2 separate regions of the Homo sapiens genome follow, and region 2 is linked to region 1. The links are contacts of gene promoters, found by promoter capture Hi-C in blood cells and fetal thymus (Javierre and others, 2016). All regions are on one chromosome and are shown on one strand. The core of a region is centred on a gene start or on the middle of the fragment in contact, and the rest is flanking DNA. Distances in the headings are between cores, read along the strand shown.

Region 1 (5,597 bases), core at 827-3,326:
TGTCTGGAAGTTCTAAACTGTCCTCTCATTTAAACATCAAAGTTTAAATATATAATACCTATTTTTGGAGGAGGCAAATCTATTACTTAAAAAAAGATACCATTTCTTCACTTATAAAGGAACATTTCCCCTAATGCCATTAATAATTAACATTTTTGTAATATCTAATATCTGGAGGTATAACCAGTAAACTATTTGATACATGGAATATTATGCAATTTGTCTTTTGAAAACAGTAATCAACAGAGGCGTTTAATATATATGAGACTTTTTATAGATTCTTTACATAGAAAAATATACACAATTCCTCAACATACATATGCCATATAATATGAGAAAAAAAAATTAATCTTGGGATCCCAAAATCACTAAGTAACGGAAAAGTCAAGCTGGGAACTATGTCACTAAACTTGCCTCCCATTTTATTCCTAAATAAGATACGTACAAAGATAAGAAGCTACATACGTTCCTCACAACGTGCCCACAAGGAAATTCCTTGTGGACAAAGGACAGACCCAACTCAAAGTTATCCCTGTGAGGCGCACAAGAGACAACTGCATATCTGATTGCTTCCTCTGCCTTATTATTTATTTATGTAAAAATACAGAGTTACTAGCCGGACTAAATTCTGTATTCAGTAGGAGGCTGATCAAGGACTCAAAAGCATGCAAACTCTTGTCTCTTATCTACATTTTTTTTTTTTTTTTTTTTTTTGAGACGGAGTTTTGCTCTTGTTGCCCAGGCTGGAATGCAATGGTGCCATCTCGGCTCACCGCAACCTCCGCCTCTTGGGTTCAAGCGATTCGCCTGCCTCAGTCTTCAGAGTAGCTGAGATTACAGGCATGCGCCACCATGCTCTGTTAATTTTGTATTTTTAGTAGAGACGGGGTTTTTCCATGTTGGTGACGCTGGTCTGAAACTCCCAACGTTAGGTCATCTGCCCGCCTCGGCCTCCCAAAGTGCTGGGATTACTGGCGTAAACCACAGCGCCCGACCTGTCTCTTATCTATTTCTAACATGGAAGCCCCCGCTTCGAGCTGTCCCTCTTACCTGACCGAACCAATCATGTTTCCCTAAAACGTACAAAAGCAAGCTGTGCCCTGACCACCTTGGGCAAATGTATCATGGGTAAGTCTTGCAAAATAAACTTTTTAAATTGACTAAGACCTCTCTCAGATATTTGGGGTTCAGAAATAAATTCTTTTACCTATTATTTATAATTTTGGTTACAATTGAGAAAGTAAGAAAAAAGTGGTGTTTTTTTCTTTTCTAAGGGTTACTGCATCTTGAAAGTGTGATGAAGGTCTTAATTATTGTTCTTATAATTCCTGTCCACAGAAGCTCCTACTCTTACTGAGACCTCACGGAATTATCATTATCACAATAGAAATAAACATTTTGGGTTTGTGGAGTAACTTTTTTTTTTTTTTTTTTTTTTGCTCATCGTTTGTTGTTTAGATAATATCATGAACTGATAAATGCAGTTGCCACGTTGATTCCCTAGGGCCTGGCTTACCGACTGAGGTCATAAGATATTATGCCTTCTCTTTAGACTTGGTCAGTGGAGAGGAAATGGGCAAAGAACCAGCCTATGGAGGTGACAAGGCCTTAGGGCCAAAAGTCTTGAGGGTGAAGGTTTAGGGCCTGCGCAGCTTCCCTGCCATGCCCCGCAAGGTCTCGCATTCGCAAGGCTTGTGACAGTGGGAGCCTCATTACGGACTCTCCTAAAGTCCATGGTGTCCTCTTTTCGCATTTGCGCCCCGTGGGTGATGCCCGATGCCGCCCTTCCCATCGCTCTCTTCCCCTTCAAGCGTATCGCAACTGCAAAAACACCCAGCACAGACACTCCATTTTCTATCTTAATGCATTTAACTAGCACAACCTACAGGTTGTTCCATCCCAGAGACTACCCTTTTCTCCATAGACGTGACCATCAACCAACCAGCGGTCAGAATCAGTCAGCCTCTGTCATGTTCCTAGGTCCTTGGCGAACTGGCTGGGCGGGGTCCCAGCAGCCTAGGAGTACAGTGGAGCAATGCCTGACGTAAGTCAACAAAGATCACGTGAGACGAATCAGTCGCCTAGATTGGCTACAACTAAGTGGTTGGGAGCGGGGAGGTCGCGGCGGCTGCGTGGGGTTCGCCCGTGACACAATTACAACTTTGTGCTGGTGCTGGCAAAGTTTGTGATTTTAAGAAATTCTGCTGTGCTCTCCAGCACTGCGAGCTTCTGCCTTCCCTGTAGTTTCCCAGATGTGATCCAGGTAGCCGAGTTCCGCTGCCCGTGCTTCGGTAGCTTAAGTCTTTGCCTCAGCTTTTTTCCTTGCAGCCGCTGAGGAGGCGATAAAATTGGCGTCACAGTCTCAAGCAGCGATTGAAGGCGTCTTTTCAACTACTCGATTAAGGTTGGGTATCGTCGTGGGACTTGGAAATTTGTTGTTTCCATGAAATCCTGCGCAGTGTCGCTCACTACCGCCGCTGTTGCCTTCGGTGATGAGGCAAAGAAAATGGCGGAAGGAAAAGCGAGCCGCGAGAGTGAAGAGGAGTCTGTTAGCCTGACAGTCGAGGAAAGGGAGGCGCTTGGTGGCATGGACAGGTACGCACCTCCATCACCCGCCTGGTTGGCTGGCGATACTCTCCGGGAAGGCCTGGACGCAGCTTGCCCACGTTGATGACGGGGTCATCCTCAGCTTGGCACTCACCAATCTGTCGCTGTCGCTCTTGGACTCGGGAAGGAGCAAGTCACTGGCTTTCTCAGACCATTAACAAGCTCTGTGTCTCTCTCTCTACAGCCGTCTCTTCGGGTTCGTGAGGCTTCATGAAGATGGCGCCAGAACGAAGACCCTACTAGGCAAGGTAAAAGCAACCAGACGCAAAGTCTTTGGTCCGCACTTTGCTCTACCAAGGCCCCGCGTTCCTTACCGCCCAGCCAGTATTTATTTTGGCTCTGCTCCATGGCCAAGGGGTCGGAAAAGTGTTTCTTGCCTTTGCTGTCCCCGTACTCTGGAATACTTCGCCCCTTGCTCCAGACTCCCTTCTACTCTGAGGAAAAAAAAAATCGGACGCTTTGGGACCGGGCTAAACCGGGTCTACACCACATGCCTGTTACTTTAGGGCCTTTTGTTCCTGAATTTTAGCGTCACAAATAGTGAATGTGTACAGTTTTCAAAATTCATAACTTCCTGCTTCTTCCCCTCGCCTTTTGGTATTTGGCTCTTGGTGTCTAATTTTAAACATTTTTTTGCCTTTTTAAAAAAAATATCCCTGGTGTCCTAAGTGTAAGTAGCAAGTAAGTTACAGCGGTGAAGAGTTTGCAGTAGATATTTGACCTATAAACTGATGCGTGTATGTTTAGCCTGAAGTTTAGTGATTTGTTGACTTTTTTAGGATGCACAGTGCTGCAAATGTGATTTCATGAATGTGTGTGCTTTTTCCATTCAGGAACCTTGTTTCTTAGGTGTCATGCTCACAGTGGGAAGAATTTGTTGTTTGTGTGAAAAGTTGGCACTGTCGTTTAGTTAATGGCTGCTCCTATCAGCCAAGATGGCGGGTAAAAAGGGGGAGGAGCAATAAAGGGGGAAGCTTGGGAAGAGGGTGGAGGTATTAACCCGGAAACCTTAGCAAGGAATAGACCGTAAAGAGCGCTGACGTAGCTTCATGTTGCTTATTAAAAATTATTATTATTTAAAAGTAGAATTCTTGCGTTATCTCCAACATTGACAGCAGCATTTTTAAACCTATATGTGCTTATTAATTGCAGCATGTTTAGTTACTCCCACGTGAATTGTTGCGTAACTTGGCCCTGGAATATTCCTGTGTGTATCGTTTTTTACCCTCTCACCAAAATCTTGTTAAAGTATTTGTATGTTGTCAATTGGTCCCGTGAAATAAGAACGGTACAACAATCGCGCCATCTTTTAGATGCTGAAGCCAGTAGTTAAGAATTTCAGTTTATTATTGTATTTGACAAGGAAATACTAATTATTTTCTCAGGATGAACATTTTACTTACCAAGACGTTTTACTTTGTAGTTTAATTCAGTACAGACGCTGAGTTCTTTTACCTATAATCTCCTTTGTATGTTTGTTTTGGGGGCAAATACTGATCAGAAAACTAAAATGTAATATATATATGTATGTATAATGTGTATATATATAGTTAGTAAATCCACTTTATTTGACTGATAAATGAAACATGAGTTAAACTTTGATTATGCAAGTGAAAATAGCTTTATGAAAAACATGTTATAGTATCAATGATACGATTTAAGCAACAGTGACTCGATCTGCCTTAATGTTTAAAATAGTTATGATAATGAAATAAAAGTAATTTGATGTTTTCTGGGATAATGTGGGAAAATACTGGTTGAGAACTTTAAATCTTCATATGCTGGAGTTAGGATAAATTCTCAGTGGGTTGTGGTTAACATTTTAGTTTGGAATGAACTTTTCAGATAGACAATATGGGGTTTAAATTTTAAGGAATTTTTTTTTCACATATTGATCCTTTCCAATTTTGATTACAGTAACATTTTAAATATGAGAAAGTGGTTTCATTATGTTTGGGGAGAACTGTAGCTTCATAAAACACTGAGTAATGCCGTATATTAAACTGCAGTGACTTTTTTGAAATGAAAAAAATATTAACTCAATTTCACTTCATTTGGCTCAGGATTCTGAAGGCTGGGAAGTCCAGGATCAAGGGGCTGCGTTTCATGAGGGCTTTAGTGCTGCATCATTCTTTGGAGAAGGTGGAAGGGCAAGAAAGTATATCACAGTGCAAGAGATGGGGGATGCCTAACTCTCTGTAATGAACCTATCCTCACTATGACATTAACCCATCCATGAGAGCAGCCTGCTTATGATGTTGTCAAATCTTAAAGACATCATTTCACAACACTGTTGCATTGAGGATTATGTTTTCAATGCATGAACTTTGGGGGACATATTCAAACCATAGTACCTGTTCTCCAAGACAAATTATTCTACAGTATGTATAATAAAGTATTTTTTCCCTTTCTCACAGAGCTTTGCATATATCACTGTTTTTTAAAAAAGTTCTTAGAATGATCTATTTCACTGATATTTCAGTTTTTATTCGTATTTATGTTTTCTATGAAAGTTTTATTTATAGATTTTACTAATGTCAGTATTGTTTTACAAGCTTCTAAAGGTTTAAAATATTGTTATAAATATGCTTTTTTCCCTGTCAAGTTTTCTGGACATTGAGGATGCTCTATCCCAACGACTAGTTTCTCTGATTTTTTTTTTTTTTGACCTCATACGTGAACCCGCATATCAAACCATTAGGATGGTTGTAACAATAGATTTCCTTAAAATTCTGTAACTTATGTTTTATAAGATTTTTATTAATTTTTATAAGATTGTCATCTGAATTAGTGTAAATACTTTTCAGCAAAAACTTTTTGGTTGAAGCTTAATAACTTGCTCGTATTTAAATAATACGCAGTTCAATTAAGTGAAAAACAGATTTTAGCAATAGTAACTTTTATTTCATGTTGGAAAACGTTTTAGGTTGATTTTGTTTGTATTATGATAGAGTTTCACTCTGTCAAATAGAATATTACTATTACAGTAT
Region 2 (5,597 bases), core at 883-3,382, 3.2 Mb before region 1:
GTTTACCAATCACTTTGCAAAGGACTAATCTCCAAAAGACTAATAGAGAGAGAGAGAGAGAGAGAGAGAGAGAGAGAGAGAGAGAGAGAGAGAGAGAGAAATTAATTAAAAGTACACTAATAATCAATTAAAAGAGAAATTATTTAAAAGCACACTAAGATCATTTTTTAACTGTCAGTTTTGCAATCTTAAATTTTTACTTAACCCTCTGTTGTAAGCTCTGAAGTGTGTGTGATTATAATGAGCTACAAAATTAGCTACGATTCAATTCCTAACAAGGTCAATTGGTAAATATCTAAGAATATTACAAGTGTGCCTATACTTGACCCAGAAATCTTACACTAGAAAATTATCCTACTGATACATACACACTTTTATGAAACATAAGCACAAAGTTATTTGTAGTTGCATTTTTAAATAGATAATTGGATACACACATAAATTATTTTCCATATGTATGAAGGAAATTGTTGCTCTAAAAATATGGTATTTAGGAATTACTATGTAGCGTCATGATAAGATGGTCAGAATATACTGCTAAGTAAAATAACAAAGGATTAGTAAGTAGAGGACAGAATAAATGTATACGACATGTCTTGTGTGGAATGTGGAAAATGAACATGGGCATTTGTATTTGCTTGAAATTTCACCGAGAATTTTTGGGATGGATTCATAAGACATTAATATATTTAGCTCTACTTGTCTGAGTTGAGGTTTAAGGGAAACAGATGGCACTCTCATGTAAGGATAATTGAGGATGGCTTGATAAAAGGACATGGTGCATACATGTGAGGAAATGAGGAGTGGGAAACTGGATTAGTTACAGCAGGAAGACCTGGTACCCCTATGGGGCCAATGCATGAAACAGTTATTAAATTCTGAACATAGGCTGTGGCTGTCAAAAAAATTTGAAAAGAGGGATTTTAGCTTTGCATAAAAGCCCAGAAAACAGCTTCCGGGAATGGATGACTCAATTTCATACTCTGCCCAATCTTCTGGTATCTACTGGTCAAACTTAAGCAGAAAACAGAGGGTTGGGGAAGTTTCTCAAAGATGGGCCAGGATCCAGACAGAAAAGGATAAAGAGTCAATGTCCAGAAACGAGGCAGGGTGCAGAGGCTCATGTATATAATCTCAGAACTTTGGGAAGCAGGAGGATCACTTGAGGTCAGGAGTTCAAGACCTGCCTGGCCAACATGGTGAAACCCTGTCTCTACTAAAAATACAAAAATTAGCTGGGCATGGTGGCATGTGCCTATAATCCCAACTACTTTGGAGGCTGAGGCAGTAGAATTGCTTGATCCTGAGAGGCAGAGGTTGCAATGAACTGAGATCATGCCACTGTACTTTAGCCTGAGTGACAGAACAAGTTTCTGTCAAAAAAAAAAAAAGAGAAGAAAGAAAGAAAGAAAGAGAAAGAGAAAGAGAAAGAGAAAGAAAGAAAGGAAGAGAGAGGAAGGGAGGGAGGGAGTGAGGGAGGGAAGGAGGGAGGGAGGGAAAAGAACAGAAAAGAAAAGAAAAGAAAAGAAAAAAGAAAAGAAAAGAAAAGAAAAAGTAAAAGAAAAATCTCCAGACACCAGCTGACAGTGCAGCTGGTTCAAGGCATAGGATACAGGATATGGATTCACAAGTAGGAGAGAGGTTTTTCACTATGAAACATTTCAATATCCCTTGATTTTTTGAAGCATTCATTGTATCTCTTACCCAAAAATAATTTGTGATGACTCAAAGAATTCTTGTTTGACAGATTATGTTTGAACTGTTCTTTTATTCACTGTTTATGACAAGTTTTCTTGAAGCTTAATGAGATTCTCATGGAAAATACTTTCCCCGGAACACATACTAATGTGTTGACAGGTTGGACATTTCTAAAGAGGACTTGTCATTCTCTTAACCTGAATTGCCCAAGCCAATGCTGTCTTCAAATGGATTAGTTATCATTTAAGTATATTAAATCTTCCACTGGAAACTACCTTGAAAATCATTTTTAAAAACTGCATTCTTCTTTTCACAATTCTTATTCAATATGCAATGTAAAAGTTTTATTCTCTTCTAGCATTAGCTAACGTATGGTAAAAACTGGATTTATGTTGTCCATTGCAGTGGCTCATGGCTGTAATACTAACACTTTGGGAGGCCAAGGAGGGAGATTGCTTGAATCCAGGAGTTCGAGACCAGCCTGGGCAGCATGGCAAAATCTCACCTCTACACAAAACACAAAAACTAGTCAAGTGTGGTGGTGCATGACTGTAGTCCCAGCAACTTAGGAGGTTGAGGTGGAAGGGTTGTGGTTGCGTGAGCTGGGGAGGCAAAGGCTGCAGTGTGCCAAGATTGCACCGTCATATCCCAGCCTGGGTGGCAGAGTAAAACACTGTATCAAAAAAATAAAATAAATAAAATCAGTAGTAAAGAAGCACTAGAAAAAAATTTTCTTCTAGGTCAAAATACTACACATGAAAGCTTTGTTTGTTACACATTTAAAATGGGTATGTTTTGATAAATTAAGCATTCTAAAACCAACCATTTAATAAAAAGTAGTTTAGTGTAGAAAGTTAATATCCAAAGTGATCCTGCCCTGGACATATTTCACTCCATCCCATAGAATATTTGACCAATTCAGAACCTGAAATAAATATCGAAGCTTTAGATTCTATTCACTAAGCCAGAGTAGTATGTAACATAATTTTGCAAGATTTCATTCAAAAGTGATTTACTGGGAATGGTGACATATTGAGAAAGCAAAGATAAATGAGATAAACATCCATTTTCTGCTGCTACTATCTGAGTGCAGTAGTCATAAAAATGTGTGACAGTGTAATCAAGAATGCTTCCTTTCCTCCATGCTCTGACTAGATGTTATTATAAATACGTAATTCTACAAAATGGACCAATTTATGATATAGAGCCAAAAGCCAATCTCTTTCTAAAGTATTATATTTCCTTTTGTAGAAATCCTTCAAATTATTCAATGTTCAGACTTGACAGGGTCTAAATGTTACCACCTAATATGTAATCACATTGACAAATTGCTTTTCACTATTTTATAGGCAGTACTCTGAAAATTATAAATATTGATTCTCATCTGAAGTATTTATACTGAATCACTGAAAGGGAAAAATGAAATGATTCTTGACAAAGATTATGCTATGTTTCCTTAATCAGATTAATTTGAGCATAACAGGTGACTTTTTTACTGTCATGACCCACTGCTTGGTATATTTTAAAAAATCAGTCAAAGCTGGGCACAGCAGCTCATGCCTGTAATCCCAGCACTTTGGGAGGCCTAGGCAGGTGGATCATGAGGTCAGGAGATCGAGACCATCCTGGCTAACATGGTTAAACCCTATCTCTATTAAAAATACAAAAAATTAGCAAAATTAGCTGGATGTGGTGGCAGGCACCTATAGTCCCAGCTACTAGGGAGGCTGAGGCAGGAGAATGGCATGAACCCTGGAGGGAGAGCTTGCAATGAGCCAAGATCCTGCCACTACACTCCAACTTTGGAGACAGAGCGAGACTGTCTCAAAAAAAAAAAAAAAAAAACCATCAAATACATGTAATTTAATCAGGTATGATTTTGTAAACAGTTACAAAAAGGCAAAAGAGGGAAACATATAAATCAATGCATTAAAAATAGTCTCACACAGCATATTTCATGATAATGAGAGAAGAATGAAAGAGATCCTCCCACATTGTTATGTATTGTTTTATACTCAGTACCTGTTTTAAGAAGAAACAAGGAAGTGAAACTAAAGGCAAGCAGCCCAGTGCCAGGCACCAGACCCAAAACCAGGCCTGAGCCTGCCTGACATTAGCTTGATAGTTAAAATTCAACCCATGACCTAGCAACCGATGTTATCCGTACATTCCAGACATTGTATGGAAGGACATTGTGAAACTTCCCTTTCTGTTCTGTTTCACTCTGACAACCGGTGCATGAAACCCCTGTCACATACTCCCTAGATGGCTCAATCAATCATGACACTTTCATGTAAAATCTTTAGTATTGTGAGCCCTTAAAAGGGACAGAATTTGTGCACTCAAGAAGCTCGGATTTTGAGATGTTAGTCTGCTGATGCTTCCAGCTGACTAAAGCCACTTCCTCCACTCCCTCAGTGTCTGTGAGGTTTTGTCTGCAGCTCATCCTGCTACATTTCTTGTTTCCCTGATCAGGAAGCGAGGTAACTGACGGACGGCTGAGGCATCCCCTTAGGCAGCTTAGGCCTGCTCTATGGAGCATCCCTGTGGGAGACTCTGGCCTGCCTTAGTGACGTGATCCAAAGAGTGATCCCAGGTAGGCAATTGCCCTGGTGGAATGCCTTGCCAGAGCAGCATGTGCCAGGCCCACATGGAGGATCAACGCAGTGGCTGAACACAAGGGAGGAACTGGCACTTGGAGTGCAGACATCTGAAACTTGGTAAGACTAGTCTTTGAAACTTGCCCACTCTATTTGAGTGGAAGCATGGCCTGATCACCCACAGTGTGTCTGTATTGACACTATTGTTCTGGTTTTGACTTTACCTGAATTGCTTGATACTTGGTTTTGGTTTTGACTTGGGCTAATACTCTGATTTTGGTTTGGTATGAATGATAAAGGTGTGTGCGTGCCCTCTTTACCTGTTCTTTGTTATGTGGTGAGTGTGTGGTGTGGGCGTGGTATTTTGTCTTGAGAAAACCTGGGCCAGGTGCAAAGTAAGCCCACCCTGTTGGGAACTATGTTAAAGAATTTCAAGAAAGGATTCAAGGGAGACTATGGAGTCGCTATGACTCCAGGAAAACTTAGAACTTTGTGTGAAATAGATTGGCCAGAATTAGAGGTATGCTGGCCATCAGAAAGAAGCCTGGACAGGTCTCTTGTTTCAAAGGTATGGCAAAAGTAACTGGCAAGACAGGACACCAAGATCAGTTCCCATATATAGATTTCTGGTTACAGCTAGTTTTAGATCCCCTGCAGTGGTTAAGGGGACAGGCAGCAGCAGTACTAGTAGCAGAGGGACAGTTAGTTAAGGAAGGTTCTCGTTCCACCTGAAGAGGAAAGCCATCCCCTAAAGTTTTGTCTGACCCAGAGCCTGAAGACTTGTGGCAGGAGATGGCACAAACAGTGCCCCCTGCCTTACAGCAAAGAGACCCCTACTCCTCAGCCCACAGCCCCTAGGCCACTCAGAGTAGACAAGAAAGGAAGTGAAGCTGCAGGAGAAACTCCTCCTTTGCCTGCCCATTTATGGCCCAAGAATAGAATCTAAATGCCCCTGAGAGAACAGCAATACACTGGGGTAGATGAGGATGGATACATGGTGGAGAGGTGTGCCTTCGTATATCACCCTTTCACCTCTGCTGACCTCTTCATTGGAAAAATAATACTCCATCTTAACACTGAAAAGCCTCAAGCGTTAATTGACTTGCTCCAAATGATTATACAGACTCATAATCCTACTTGGGCTGATTGCCACCAGCTACTCATGTACCTCTTTAACACAGATGAAAGGTGAAGGGTGCTCCAGGTGGCAACTAAATGGCTAGAGGAGCACGTCTCAGCCAATTACCAAAATCCCCAGGAATACATAAGAATTCAGCTGTCAGGAATGGACCCTCAATG

The links. The method cuts DNA at HindIII sites, captures the fragments that hold promoters and counts their contacts. A CHiCAGO score of 5 or more calls a contact.
Region 2: a contact is called between a fragment that was not itself captured here and the fragment with the promoter of UTY in region 1, in 2 of 17 cell types (naive B cells and total B cells). The highest score is 8.2, in naive B cells.

Annotation. Positions count from the first base shown.
Region 1 is chrY:13,476,512-13,482,108 of GRCh38, reverse strand. UTY (ubiquitously transcribed tetratricopeptide repeat containing, Y-linked) reads left to right here and starts at 2,076. Exons shown (of 30, transcript NM_001258249.2): 1 at 2,076-2,595; 2 at 2,792-2,855. The coding sequence starts at 2,444. MIR12120 (microRNA 12120) reads right to left here and starts at 2,932; the gene lies at 2,843-2,932. The HindIII fragment of the contact is 7,265 bases long and covers 1-3,583 here.
Region 2 is chrY:16,642,865-16,648,461 of GRCh38, reverse strand. No RefSeq gene overlaps it. Among named protein-coding and RNA genes, the nearest start is that of FAM41AY1, 860 kb to the left of the region's middle. The HindIII fragment of the contact is 661 bases long and covers 1,802-2,462 here.